Regions from separate parts of the Homo sapiens genome. Here region 2 is linked to region 1. The links are contacts of gene promoters, found by promoter capture Hi-C in human tissues and cell types (Jung and others, 2019). All regions are on one chromosome and are shown on one strand. The core of a region is centred on a gene start or on the middle of the fragment in contact, and the rest is flanking DNA. Distances in the headings are between cores, read along the strand shown. Region 1 holds the start of ZNF138 (zinc finger protein 138). Region 2 overlaps ZNF736 (zinc finger protein 736).

Region 1 (7,670 bases), core at 2,829-5,328:
TTCCCTATTTAATAAAATGGTACTGGAATAACTAGCTAGCACTATGTATAAGATTTTCTTTTTTGTATTTAAAAAAATAGCCGAATTTTTCTTCAGCGGTCAAATAAAATACTTCTTAATCAAAATATAGTTAAGTTTATCTCCTTCCCACAGCTCCTGAACTTTGAGCTACTCAGTCTGAGCCAACATACAACCCCATTTTATGTTTCTCCTAAAAACTTGCTGACTTCAGGGTAAAACATTTTCTAATCTAAAATCTGATTTGGGCTGAGCGTGGTGGCTCACGCCTGTAATCCCAGCACTTTGAGAGGCTGAGAAGAGCAGATCACCTGAGGTCAGGAGTTTGAGACCACCCTGGCCAATATGGCAAAACCCCATTTCTAGTAAAAATACAAAAATTAGCCCGGCATGGTGGTGGGCGGCTGTAATCCCAGCTTCTCAGGAGGCTGTGGCATGACAGTCACTTGAACCCAGGAGGCAGAGGTTGCAGTGAGGTGATATCCAGCCACTGCACTCCAGCCTGGGCAACAAAGTAAGACTCTGTCTCAAAAAAATAATTTAATTAAAAAATAAAAAATAAAATCTGATTTATACACCCTCCATTTGCCATTCCCCTCTCACCTTCTAATCTTTTTTGCTCCTCCCTAAGAAAGCCTTTATCTGCCTAAACTTTGCAATCCTTAAAGATTATATAGTTGGTACTTCCTTCTGTTGCAGTATTTTAGAATTTTTTAAAAAATAAACCTAATTTTGTTTTATTTTACAAAGTCTAGAAACTGCCTCAAAACAATAACAACTTCATCCTGAGTATGACCCTCCCAATCCCCTTCCATCTTAATGTTTACTGCATCTGCCTGTGGGTCTCCAGTTTTCCAGGGCTCTGTAGCTTCTCTCAGTATAAAGGTTCTTCCATGGCTGGGGTGAGCAGGCTCCGACATCCGCAGGGGAGGCTTCCTAGAAAGAACTAACTGGGCCTTTAATAACCTCCCTTCCCTTTGTAGGCTCAATATTAGCCTTAGCTTGCAGTCACTGGCGCAAGCTTTAATTTCCATGTCGGAGTTGTTCAAATGGTTTTTTAAACTGAAAAATTCAGCAAAATTACTCAAACACAGTGTTTATATAAGGGAAGGAAATTTTAAAGCACTTACGTCACATATCTCAAATGCAAAAGTATGTAATCTTTTAAAACGATAAATAATTATTTTATTATATCCATTAAAAATGATGTAGTAAACAATTAGTCATATGGGAACACTTCTAGGATAGACCAAGTTTCATCTTAAAAAATTTAGCATTAACCTCAGAAATCAAGATGACTGGATACAGAAGAGAGGTATTCACTGAAATGTACCCTGAAAAAGGAGGAACTGATATTTTCATGAATCTGTATAACTCACCAATTATCTACCACATCTTCTTGTGGAAATGTATTCATTTTCTTTCTTTCTTTTTTCTTGAGATGGAGTCTCGCTCTGTCGCCCAAGGTGGAGTGCAGCCGCACGATCTCAGCTCACTGCAACCTCTGCCTATGGGGTTCAAATGATTCTCCCACCTCAGCCTCCCGAATAGCTGGGATTACAGGTGCCTATCACCATTCATGGCTAATTTCTAATTTTTGTATTTTTAGTAGAGATGGGGTTTCACCATGTTGGCCAGGCTGGTCTAGAACTCCTGACCTCAGGTGATCTCCCTGCCTTGGCCTCCCACAGTGCTGGGATTTCAGGCATGAGCCACCGCACCCCGCCGGAAATGTATTCGTTTTCCACAGCCAAAATGGAAGAAGTATTTTCCCTATTCTTTTCCTTGGTAGCATTCTAAAAGCTAAGCCTTGGAATACTCTTGGACATCACCCAGCCATAAAAAAACAGACCTGAGAAAATTCCTAAACTCAGTCTGGGAAAGAAAAAGGTAAATGAGAATACTTAACAAATAGAATATATGATTAGATATTTTTTTCCAAAACCCATCTCTTTCATGCCCATTCTAATTATCCTCTTACCTTTTAGTCCTACTAATAAACTGCAAGTTACAATTAAAACACTGAAGTAAGTGAACAAATCTTTTCAGGGTGACAATCCCAGGGAGTGGCAGTGCTGATTAAAAAACAGATGTATCTCACTCACATGTCAAGTCAAGCCACCCAATCACTTGAGAGATTCTCCCACCCCATCCTGCTCACTTAAGTGCTAAACGACCACCCTCTCTGAAGACCACCCTCTCTGAAGACGCTGCACTATGCCTCAGTGACTGCCCCAAGTACATTTCACTTTGCAAGTTCTTGAACCATCTCACTGGGGTAAGGTTTGATTTGTCTTTTTGGATACTATCATTTCTTTCACAAATCTTAGAGAATCCAGTGGGCCGAAATTATTTCTGTGTTCTCCCCTCAATACCAGCATATGATTGATTGACCAGCAATATGTCTCCGGAAATGGACACTGGGTTGGTTTGAAGACAATCTTAACTTCTCAAAGGGTTTGCTTTTCAAAGGAAGAGTACACCAGGAGATTCCTCTCAGCCCCAGGGCATTCACCTGCTCCCTTGAGAGGCTACACTCCAACCTCAGGTTGTCCTCTGTCTCCCATTCCCAGATAACCAGAGTTCATTCCAGGCCAGGAGCTGAAATTTACCAGAGATTCTAGCATACACAGCCACAGTGGATATTTTGATTTATCCTCAGAAAGTACTGAAACCCAGGACCAAGGAAAAAACTGAAGAGTGACTAAGGACACATTACCTTATAAAGTTTCCAAAGGGAAACCTTGACCCAAAAATATTCTGATAAGATCTCTGTACCTAGGGAAGATTTAAAAAAAAAAAAAAAGGCACAGAGATTTTTTACAATACAGCATCAGGGGATGAGTCTTTGGTTTCTTCTCATGGGAAATATTTACAAACAGATAACAAATCTTTTTTAAAATGCCATCCATGCTTTGTCAAAAAATGATTAATTAAAATACAGTATTTCAAATGTACACTAAAGGACAAATAGTTGATAATGTGAATTAGGAAGGGGAAGTTGGCATTTGGGAATGTCAGAAGGAACTGGAAATTTAGTATTTTACTGCAAGCCAGAGTTAGGCTGAAGGAATGGGAAATGGGGAGGGGGAGGAGTCTTGAGACCCTGCTTGGGACACATGTGAAAAATGAAGGGGAAGATCTGTCCCCTGTGGAGTGTGAAAATAATTAAGTGGCAGGCAATTAGACTGAGGTCGCTCCAGTCCCAGGGTTTCTGGTTTTAAAAAAATCTAACTCAAATGCATTTTTTTGTAAATTACTACCTTGTGAAAAATAAAATTCATGTTTAACCAACTGTAAACTGCCAATTAACCTCTGATTACATGACCAGGAAATTTCCTCCTTCATTGTACAAATTAAGAAACTACATAACTCTACTAACCAATTACTGAATTTGGTTTTATCATACACCTTATACAAGTGTTTCCTTCAAACCCCTCCCACGGACCACTACTGCAAACCACAGCTGGGTGCTCCACAATTCTTGAATCACTGTTTGATTAAATTAATTTTTTTGCGGTGACTTTCATAAATTTTAATAGGGGAAAAGAGGGACAGGGAAGCCCGCGGAGGAAACCTCTTCCCATTCATGAACCCAGCACCCCGAGTCAGGATTCTCCCCTGACGACCCTCCCGTCGTCTCTGCACAATCGCTGCGGGTGCAGAGCTGCTCAGAGAGGGCTCCAGGCCAGGGCACAGTCACTGCGCAGGGAGGAGACAGGACGCCTGGTTCCGGCTGTCAGCCCAGCTGCCATGCTATGGCTTAAGGGGACTGAGGGCCGAGCTGTGCCAAGAACTCGGGGCCGCGGATTTTGCAGCCGACTGCGGGAAGACCCGAGTACTGCCACAGCCACTTCCGACCGGTTCCAACCAGCTCCCTCCCCCTCTCTCGGGATGTCGGACCCAGCACTCTCACCATTTCTAGGCTTCCGGGGGATCCTGGCGTCTTAGCTGTGAATCTCCCAATAACCAGATCACAGCGCCACAGAGGCTGGGCCTCTAGGAGTAAGAGGACGCAGAAAAGTGAAGGCCAGACCTGCAGCACCCGCTGCAGCGAGACAAAGACCCCGCCGCCTCCCGGAAGACGTCATGTCCGCTCCAGCTGGGTGCCTGATTGGACCGTTCCCAGCCCGGCGTCCCTGATTGGATAACGTTTAACAACCCGCCCCCTCAGGCCCTGAGTGACAGATGTGCTCAGGTGCTGGGCTGAAGGAAGACAGAGTTAAACCTAAGCAGCAGCCTTTTCCAGAAGGGCTTCCTCCCTGAGCTGAGTCAGGCCCACCCCAGAGGGCATTTGCATTTAACCTTGTGTATAAGGTCGTATGCATTTATAAATAACATATAGCTATTCACATCTGAATATAACAATTATTTTTAAATTCCAGATTTTATAACCGTACTGGCTTCTGGTCCTTTGAGCAGGCAGCCTGAGATTTTTTTCTTTTTTTTTTTTGAGACAGAGTCTCACTCTCACCCAGGCTCAAGCACAGTGGCACGATTTCGGCTCACCCCAAACTCCGCATCTCGGGCTCAAGTGATTCTCCTGCCTTAGCCTCCTGAGTAATTGGGATTACAGGCACCCGCCTCCACGCCCGGCTACTTTTTGTATATTTAATAGAGACAGAATTTTGCCATGTTGGTCAGGCTGATCTCGAACTCCTGACCTCAGGTGATCCACCTGCCTCGGCCTCCCAAAGTGCTGGGATTACAGAGCACATGTGAATTCCAAATTTTCTAGTAGTCAAACTTTAAGAATAAACAGGTGGAATTCACTCTAATTGAGATGGTTAGTCATTTAGGCTGGGCTCAGTGAGACCATTCTTGTGACCTCAGCTGAGTTCCTTCAGACATGTATCATCAGCTGCTTGTTGACTAGGCAGCTGTGCTTCTGGGGGTGAGCTTCTGCTTCTGAGGCTGTCAACAGAGGCAACTTGCTTCTCCTCCCCATACTATTTTATCTTCCATCTGGCTAACATGGGCTTTTTTCGCGGAGATAGTAGCCTTCTGAAAGAAAAACAGAAGCATGCAAAACCATTTGAGCCTACGCCTCAAACTAGCACACTGCACTGTTCACAGGTTTTTACTGCCCTGAGCAAATAAGGCCAGCCAGATCTAGGGTTTGGAAAACAGAACTGGATCTCAATGGAAACAGCTGTAAATGCACCTGGCAATGGGCATGGATAGCGGAGGGATGAAAAATTGCTAACATTTTTGCAATCAGTATCATTCTGCCTTTTTTTGCATATGTGGTTTATATAACTCTTCCACATCAAAAAAAAAAAAATTTGTGCAAAGACCCACAGCTATTAAGTGGCTGGGCTGGGACTCAGAATTAACTCCATTTGACCCTTGAAATCCTGGAGAGTGACACTTCTAAAATAGAAGCCAGATTTCTTTTAGATTTGTGCCCATATAGCACTGTTTATTATTATTGCTAGAAATAATCTTAAGAAATTGAAGAAGCACACGGTAGCTCACATCTATAATCCTAGCACTTTGGCAAGCTGAGATGGGAGAATCACTTGCGCTCAGGAGTTCAAGTGCAGCCTGAATAACATAGTTAAGATCCTATGTGCATGAAAATTTTTTTTTTTTTAATTAGCCAGTCATGGCCGGGCGCGGTGGCTCATGCCTGTAATCCCAGCACTTTGGGAGGCCGAGGAGGGCAGATCACGAGGTCAGGAGATCGAGACCATCCTGGCTAACACGGTGAAACCCCGTCTCTACTAAAAATACAGTCCCAGCTGCTCGGGAGGCTGAGGCAGGAGAATGGCATGAACCCACGAGATGGGGCTTGCAGTGAGCCAAGATCCCACCACTGCACTCCAGCCTGGGTGACAGAGCGAGACTCCGTCTCAAAAAAAATAAAAAATAAAAATAAATAAAAATAAAAATTAGCCAGCATGAGGCAATCCTGTAGTCCCAGCTACTCAGGTGGCAGAGGCAAGAGGATTACTTGAGCCTGGAAGGTCGAGGCTGCAGTGAGCCATGATTGGTTACGACACTGCACTTCAGCCTGGGTGGTGAGAGTGTGATCCTTTCTCCAAAAAAAAAAAAAGAAAAGAAAAGAAACAGAAAAGAAAAAAGTTGCAGGAGCATTTCAAAAGGACATAGCATATGTGGAAAAAGATAGATGAGGGATGAGTTGAGAAAATCAAAGCCCAGCAACACATTACTTATTTTTTATCATAGATAAAATCTGTAAACATCTAAAAAAAAAAACAAAACCTTCAGAGAAATTGAATGTAACAGAGTCTAAATGAACAAAGAATGATTTGCAAATCAGGCAGCCTGTGGGCCCAGAATAGGCTCAGAGAGACTCCAGCACAGCAACATGGTAAAAAAATTGATCAACAGAAAAAGCAAAGTGGCATACAGAAAATGAAATTGAGGTACAGAAACAGCCAAATTGATTACAGCTTGGGATTTGCCTTATTTGAACATGGTTTGAAGAGTTGATGTCCTTTTATTGGCAAAATCACAGTGGCTGGTACAGGAATGGGTTATAATCTACTTACATATCCAGTTAGGTTTCAGTTTAGTATGTACCAAAAAAAAAAAAAAAAGAAAAACAAACAAACAAAAAACCTACTGACCAAAATTAAACATGAAAACAGAGAGCTTCAGGCTATAATTTAACAATTTCTCCTTTTTGGTTATCTTCTCAATTTTGAGAGATAGACCAAGTTATCAGCTAAATAAATGGTCTCCTCATTTCAACCAAGCAGCCTGTTTCTTAAACCCCCGTAACTGAATCTCTGTAATACGTGTAATATATTTCTGTATAATCTCTATAATATATTTCTCCATGTGCAACTATGCATATTAGCAACTACACAGATACTTTTCTGTTTATGCAATAAGTAATCTCAAGAAATTCCATTATTTAGCACAACTTTAGTAAAAAAAGTCTATTGTGTAACCATAGCCTTTGCAGTAGAATCTGCTATAGAGACTATTATGAAGGATAAATGTCTAACCAATGCCTGATTTTTTTACCCTGAACCATGAAAAAAAAAAAAAAAAAAAGACCTAACAAATGATGCTTATTTAGAAGAGTAATGGCCAGGCAATGCTCTGAAACTTATTGTGAATGAGTTCTTTTTAACTTCTGAAGTAGGTTAAGAGCAGTGGACCTATATTCTGTGTTTCTGATATTATGAGGCAACAAATGTCCCATTAGAATTTCTCACCCACATTGACCCTTCATCTTGTACCTATCAAGGCATAAGTTTGTTCATATATAAAGTTGGCTGCAAAATTCTCTAGAGAATTAGATAATTAGTAGAGACGGGGTTTCACCATGTTGGCCAGGCTGGTTTCAAATGCCTGACCTCAAGTGATCCAACCGTCTCATCCTCCCAAAATGCTGGGATTACAAGCACGAGCCACTGTGCCCAACCTAATCCCAGCACTTTAAAAAGCCAAGAAACAAAGACTGTTTAAGCCTAGGAATACAAGTCCAGCCTGGGCAACATGGCAAAACCCTATGTTTACAAATAATACAAACATTAGCTGGGTATGGTGGCCCGCACTTGTAGTACCAGCTATTTAGGAGGCTGAGGAAGGCGAATTGCCTGAGCCCAAAAGGTCGAGGCTGCAGTGAGCCGTGATCAAGCCACTGTACTTCATTCTGGGTGACAGAGGGAGAC
Region 2 (7,670 bases), core at 3,313-5,812, 460 kb after region 1:
AGTTTGAGACCAGCCTGGGTGATATAGTGAGACTCCTTCTCAAAGAAGAGACCTTTATAATAATTTTGTTTTTCAAGGAGAGGGTTTTAAAACCTGCTAGAACTAAAGATTGATTGAAGTCATTTTGAAAAGGCAGGTCCTCATATAGGTGGCAAACTTGAAAACCCTTGCTCTTTGGCTACAGGTCAAGAAATGGTTCAACTATTTTGACTTGACTTAAAATTCTGTAGTGACTCCATAACCATCTCCAGCTCCTTCCAGCCATAGCCTAGGAGTGGTTCTGCATATCCAGAGACCCAGAGAAAGATGCCTGTTTGTGGTTACAGCAGTAGGTCTGCAGACCTTGGCCTTTACTGTGCTCTCTGAAACAGTTCAGTGACTCAGTTTCAGCACTGATAGTCACAGTTTGTGGCAAGTTCTGCCAACTTAAGTACTCAAAGAGTTACTTGGGGAAATCTTGCCACATACTCAGTAAGAAACACACATCAGGCACACCATATACCAGCCGTACTGCAGAACACTGCCCTAGTGCTGGCCCTACAGATCCAAGTCCTAAAGGCAATTCCGTCTGCCAAGAAATAAGACAGGATTAACAACTACCCAGGCTCCTGGTAACAAACCCACTAAAAGCAAACTCCACAACAGACCAAGAAACAGCCATGTGACCCACATATAACCCCTCTCCACTGCATACCCAAGAAGATTCTATCAGCTAATTGACCCAAGAGAAGATTTGTACCTACTGAGAGCAGTTTATAAAATTGGAAAATTTAGATTCAATAAATGCCCTATTAAAATTTTAGTACAATTTTTCGAAGTAATAGAAAATTCAATCTTAAAATTTATATGGAATTACAAGAAACACTGAATATCCAAAGCAGTTTTGAGGATTAAAAACAAAGCTAGGGGCATTATACTTTCTGATTTTAAACTACATATGAAGGCTACTGTAATAAAAACAGGATGATGTGTGCATAAAAATGCACACCGATATCAGTGGAGCAGGATGGAGAGCCCGGAAACAAATCCATCCTTGTAAGATCAACTCATCTTTGACACTGAGCCACTGAGAATGCATAATGCAGAAAATATAGTCTCTTCCACACTTGGGGCTGGGAAAACTGAATATCCACAAGTAAAAGAATAAAATTAGACCACTTTTCTTACAATATTTAAAAATTAACTAAATATAAAATAAGGACTCTAATGAATGACATAAATTCTTAATAATCTTAAAAGAAAACATATGAAGAAACCTTAATATTGGTCTTGAAGTGAATTTTTGGATACGACAGCAAAAGTACAGCAATAAAAGCAAATATAAACAAATTAAACTGCATCAAACTAAAACACTTCTGTAGAACCAAGAAAAAATAGAATAAGAAAACCATATCTGATAAGTGGTTAGTATCAAAAATATATAAGAAACTCATGCAAATAAAAGGCAACAACTATAATAGTAATAACAAAATTTAAAAATAAGCCAAGGACTAAATAAATGTTTACAAATGAAAACATACAGTTGGGCAACAGGTATATAGAAAGGTGCTCAATGTCACCAATCTGGCAGATGCAAATTAAATTCATTGTGAGATATTACTTTATACCTGTTAGGACTGCTAATATCAAGAAGATTTATAACAAGTGTTGACAATATATTAAAGAAAAGATGCTGTACAATTTTAGTGACGTACAATTTTTTAGAGACATTATGAAATCTAGTATGTAGGTTCTTTTAAAAATTTTTTAATAGTACTGCTATACAATTCAGCTATCTCATTTCTGCATATACAATAAATTTACTATCTCAAAGAAATACCTGCACCTCCATGTTCATTGAAACATTTTTCACAATTGTCAAGATACAAAAGCAATCTAAAGTGTTTGTGGAAACTGACTGCACAAAAAAAAAACATGGCATGTATACAAAATAGAATATTATTCAGCCATAAAAAATAATAAAACCCTGACATTCTACAACATGGATGGACCTAGATGATGTTATGCCGAGTGAAACATCACAGAAACAGACAAATACTGTATGATCTCACTTCTATGGAGAATATAATAAGGTTGGACTCCTAGAAGAAGAGAGTATAGAGGTGAGTGCTAGGCCCTGGAGGTGGAGAAAGTGGAGTATGTTGTTCAAATGGTACAAATTTTCAGTTAAAAGACAAACAAGTTATGGTAACCTAAGGTACAGCTTTATGACTACTGAAAGTAATACTGTTATGTATGCTGAAAATTTGCTGAGAGATCTTAATTGTTTTCACTACAAAAAAGGTAACTTGTAAGGTCATAAATGTGTTTGTTCATTAATTTGATTGTATTAATCATTTCTTTATGTATACACATACAAAATCAATACACTGTATACAATACATAGGTATTCAATTATTATTTGTGAAAAAATTCGCCTTACTGGGATTATATGTGTGTCATACACATGCGTATATAAATGTGTTTATATATATACATATGAATGACACAATCACAGTGAGCTTCATACTAAATAAAACCACAAAACGATGTCGTTTAAAATAAAGTTAAAATTGAGAGTTTAATATGTACTCAGCAGACTGGGCACAGTGGCTCATACCTATAATCCTAGCATTTTGGGAGGCCAAGGCAGGCAGATCACCTGAGGTTGGGAGTTCGAGACCAGCCTGACCAATATGGAGAAACCCTGTCTCTACTAAAAAATACAAAATTAGCCGGGTGTGGTGGCACATGCCTGTAATCCCAGCTACTAGGGAGGCTGAGGCAGAAGAATCGCTTGAACCTGGGAGGCGGAGGTTGCAGGGAGCCGAGATCGTGCCATTGCACTCCAGCTTGGGCAACAAGAGCAAAACTCTGTCTCAAAAAAAAAAAAAAACCAAAAAAAACAAAACAAAACAAAACAAAAAAAATACTCAGCAATGTTTTAAGCTCCCCAATGACATAGTATATTTAATAAACGTATGAAGTAGATACAATGAACTATAATACATACAGTTGAGGAATTTGGCCATATTTACCAACATTTGTTTATATGAAAAGAATAACATTTGAAGTAACACAATTTTAGAGTTTGTTTCATTTAGGGAGATGCTTAGTGTTTTGATATAATTACTGAGTATAAATTTCTGTAAAATCACGTTTGAAGGTTCCATAGAATAGAAAATTATAAAGCAGGAAGCACACATCTTTTTGTGGTATTCCTGGGATTTCTGATCCAAACTGTAATATCACCAAAACTTAAATATTTAGACATTATCCAAAAACAGAACTTAAAAAAATGGTTTAATATAGTTTCTCAAAAATACAGATATTGCTGTTTCCCCAAAGCAATGGAAAAGCAGTCAAATCACACATTTTCTGTCAAGCCATGAAAGACTTTCATTATTGCTGTAAACTAAAAACAAAAAACAAAACAAAACACACACACAACACACACACACACATTACTGAAGGGGAAGTACAGTGCTTGGAAAATTCACAAGAATGGGACAAAAAATGTCCCTATGTTAAAGCAAGAGAAAGAAATGAAGGTTTCTCAGAAACCATTTCCACTGGAGCAGAGCTTCTGGAAGCATGTTTAAAGGTTTGGCTTCCTCCTTGACATTGGGATCCGTCATTTGTGTCATCTGCTTCATTCACTCCCACCTACCTGGGTGTTTGGCTACTGCCTCCTGTCTCTTCACTTTCCAAGGCTCTTTTCTTTGCTCCAGACAGGTCATCAAGTCTGGCTTAAAGATAGCAAGACCTGTTTTATTAGAAAAAAAAACATGACTCTTGCTAGGATAATCTGATTACTAATCTAGTACTATGCTCAGTAGAGAAGAGAGAACATTATAGAAGACTCTAGAAAATTAATTTTAATATACTGTTTCCTAACAGAAACTTTAGAATATTTAGAAAGTATTTTAAATTTGTGGTTCTTAGCTCTATTACCCAGTAATACTGAATCAAAAATCAGCTGTGAAAATTGCATTTTTAGGTGTGGGTAACAATATTTTATGCTACTAAATTTCTGATATTACCACTAATTTAGACTGAAGTATACAGATGAGCTCAAAAAAGGGAAAGATTAATGTTAAGATGAAACATCTTGAAGATTATATTTTCTACCTCAACAGATACCCAATTTTTTCTTTTTGAAGCAGGATTCTGAAACTCATTTATGCAAAGCAGAACCTCCAAAAAAATCAGAAGAAAATAAAATATTTAATGTAGAATATGAGTTGTATATTGAAGTTATTCTCACCCAAGGAGACCAGGTTTCCATAGTTCTCTAACATCACATCCCTATACAAACGCTGCTGAGCAGAGTCCAGGCATTCCCACTCTTCTGGGGAGAATTCTACAGCCACATCCCTGAATGTCAACACTCCCTGGAAAACAAAACATATTTACCAAGTGACCATAGAAAGAATTCTTGATTTGACATCAGGTAAAATGAGAATAAAGATAGCTGGTTCTGACTTATATGAGTTACTGGAGTTATCCAGTAGGATACTTTCTAGCACAGAAATATTCTCTAGTGTATTTTTAACTCTGAGAAAAGATGGCATAAGATCATGAAACCAGTGTATGTGCAATACTTTTCTTGATGATACAGTATAAAATAAAGGACATTAACACAGGCATGTACATTTCTTAATGCTACATTTACATAATACAAGAAAAGCTGTCTATAGTTCCCATATGGAAACTTCATGGTGAGTTAAAAGCATACTTCTCAAATCTTATTGTGTATAGCAATGAACAGGAGATCTTGTTAAAACCTAGATTTTGACTCTGAAGATCTAGCGTAAAGCTTGAGTTTCCAAATTTGTAAGAAGTTTGCCAGTGGTATCGTTGCTTCTGGCCCAAGGAGAATATTTTGTCAAAAATTCAGTAAGTGGCACAGCCTAGGTTTTTAGTTTATTTGACCAGTAAAGAAAGACGAGAGCCTTCATTTTCCATAGCAAGCGATATGCAAAGAGAAGGTAGGAAGAAAGAAGAGCTGTCAGATTAAACATGGCTAAATCTTGTTTTTGCACATCACTTGATAAACTCCCCAAGGTATCTATTAATAGAGAAAAATAATGAACTGTAGAGTGAAAAATATCTGTCAGAAAGCGTATTTACCAAGTAAATAAATTAAGATCAACTATATTAAAAGAAATTTGTATCAGGTGCTGATTAACAAAGAAGGATACAAGACTACTGTGCTATTATTAACATTAACACAAAAAAGGGTCAACAATCTGAGTCTAGTCATGAAGAAACATCAGTTTTAGGCAAAATGTAAGCTACAAATATCTCCCATGTTCTGTAATCTCTAATTTTTGGCTAAACTTTTTTTTTTTTAAACTTTAAGTTCTGGGATACATGTGCAGGTTTGTTACATAGGTATACATGTGTCATGGTGGATTGCTGCACCTATCAACCCGTCATCTAGGTTTTAAGCCCCACATGCATTAGGTATTTGTCCTATTGCTCTCCTTCCCCTTGCCCCCATCTGCTGACAGGCCCTGGTGTGTGATGTTTCCCTCCCTGTGTCCATGTGTTCTCATTGTTTGAATCCTACTTATGAGTGAGAACATGCGGTGTTTGGTTTTCTGTTCCTGTGTTAGTTTGTTAGTTTGCTGAGAATGATGGTTCCAGCTTCATCCATGTCCCAGCAAAGGACGTGAACTCATTCTTTTTTATGGCTGCATAGTATTCCATGGTGTATATGTGCCACATTTTCTTTATCCAGTCTATCATTGATGGGCATTTGGGTTGGCTGCAAGTCTTTGCTATTGTAAATAGTGCTGCAATAAACATATGTGTGCATGTGTCTTTATAGTAGAATGATTTAAAATCCTTTGGGCATATACCTAGTAATGAGATTGCTGGGTCAAATGGTATTTCTGGTTCTAGATCCTTGAGGAATCACCACACTGTCTTCCACAATGGTTGAACTAATTTACACTCCCACCAACAGTGTAAAAGCATTCCTATTTCTCCACATCCTTGCCAGTATCTGTTTCCTGACTTTTTAATGCTCGCCATTCTAACTGGTGTGAGATAGTATCTCATTGTGGTTTTGATTTGCATTCCTCTAATGACCAGTGATGATGAACTTTTTTTTATGTTTGTTGGCTGCATAAATATCTTCTTTTGAGAAGTGTCTGTTTACATCCTTCACCCACTTTTTGATGGGATTGCTTTTTTCTTGTAAATTTATTTAAGTTCCTTGTAGATTCTGGGTATTTGCCCTTTGTCGGATGCATATATTGCAAAAATTTTCTCCCATTCTGTAGGCTGCCTGTTCACTGATGACAGTTTCTTTTGCTATGCAGAAGCTCTTTAGTTTAATTAGATCCCATTTGTCAATTTTGGCTTTTGTTGCCATTGCCTTTGGTGTTTTAGTCATGAAGTCTTTGCCCATGCCTATGTCCTAAATGGTATTACCTAGGTTTTCTTCTAGAGTTTTCATGGTTTTAGGTTTTACATTTAAGTCTTTAATCCATCTTGAGTTAATTTTTGTATAAGGTGTAAGGGAGGGTGGTCCAGTTTCTGTTTTCTGCATATGGCCAGCCAGTTTTCCAAGCACCATTTATTAAATAGGGAATCCATTCCCCATTGCTTATTTTTGTCAGGTTTGTCAAAGATAAGATGGTTGTATATGTGTGGTGTTATTTCTGAGGCCTCTGTTCTGTTACATTGGTCTATATACCGGTTTTGGTACCAGTACCATGCTGTTTTGGTTACTGTAGCCTTGTAGTATAGTTTCAAGTCAGGTAGCGTGATGCCTCCAGCTTTGCTCTTTTTGCTTAGGACTGTGTTGACTATATGGGCTCTTTTTTGGTTCCATATAAAATTTAAAGTATTTTTTCTAATTCTGCGAAGAAAATCAATGGTAGCCTGATGGGAATAGCATCGAATCTATAAATTACTTTGGGTAGTATTGCCATTTTCATGATATTGATTCTTCCTATCCATGAGCACGGATTTTTTTTTTCCATTTGTGTCCTCTTTTACTTCCTTGCTTTAGCATCCTAGAGAGGAAGTCTCTTCTATTTTTTATTCAGAACTTTCTGAGTTATCCTGGGCAATAAAGACCATTCTCATTAAATGTGCATTTTTATAAGCAGTTTTGCATAGATTTAATGGAAGCTAAACAGTACATGGTCTCCTTCTTCACTGATAACCAAAGACCTGATCCCATCTCAAACAGGAATCTTGGGTCTCCACACCCTTCCATGTTCGACAGCCACAGAAGAAACATTTGTAATGTTGCAGGTATAAATTCATGGTGACAATTTTTTCACGGCTTATTAAAAGCTGGGACGTAGGGAATAAGGAGAAGGCTCTGGTATATAAGGAAAAAGTATTTCTCAGAGCCCCTTGACTATCATGAGAATAAAAAGTGAAAAAGGAGTTAAACTGATAAGGCAAAACATCACAAGTAGCGTGTTGCGGGAAGTCAGGGACCCTGAATGGAGGGAGCAGCTGGAGCCACGGCAGAGGAACATGAATTGTGAAAACTTCTTGGACATTTATCAGTTCCCAAATAATACTTTTGTAATTTCTTATGCCTGTCTTTACTTTAATCTCTTAATCTGTTATCTTCGTAAGCTGAGGATGTATGTCACCTCAGGACCACTGTAATAATTGTGTTAACTGTACAAACTGATTGTAAAACATGTGTTTAAACA

What was found. The method cuts DNA at HindIII sites, captures the fragments that hold promoters and counts their contacts. A contact is called where the count stands out against the background at its distance.
Region 2: a fragment that was not itself captured here is called in contact with the fragment with the promoter of ZNF138 in region 1 in 1 of the 25 tissues and cell types used here (lymphoblastoid cells).

The regions. Positions count from the first base shown.
Region 1 is chr7:64,790,836-64,798,505 of GRCh38, reverse strand. ZNF138 (zinc finger protein 138) reads right to left here and starts at 4,078. Exons shown (of 4, transcript NM_001271639.2): 1 at 3,935-4,078. The coding sequence starts at 3,937. RefSeq lists enhancers at 3,478-4,038, 3,823-4,062, 4,303-4,352. The HindIII fragment of the contact is 15,546 bases long and covers 1-7,670 here.
Region 2 is chr7:64,332,962-64,340,631 of GRCh38, reverse strand. It overlaps ZNF736 (zinc finger protein 736), which reads right to left. Exons shown (of 4, transcript NM_001170905.3): 2 at 4,247-4,373; 3 at 3,650-3,745. Among named protein-coding and RNA genes, the nearest start is that of ZNF736, 23 kb to the right of the region's middle. The HindIII fragment of the contact is 5,723 bases long and covers 1,701-7,423 here.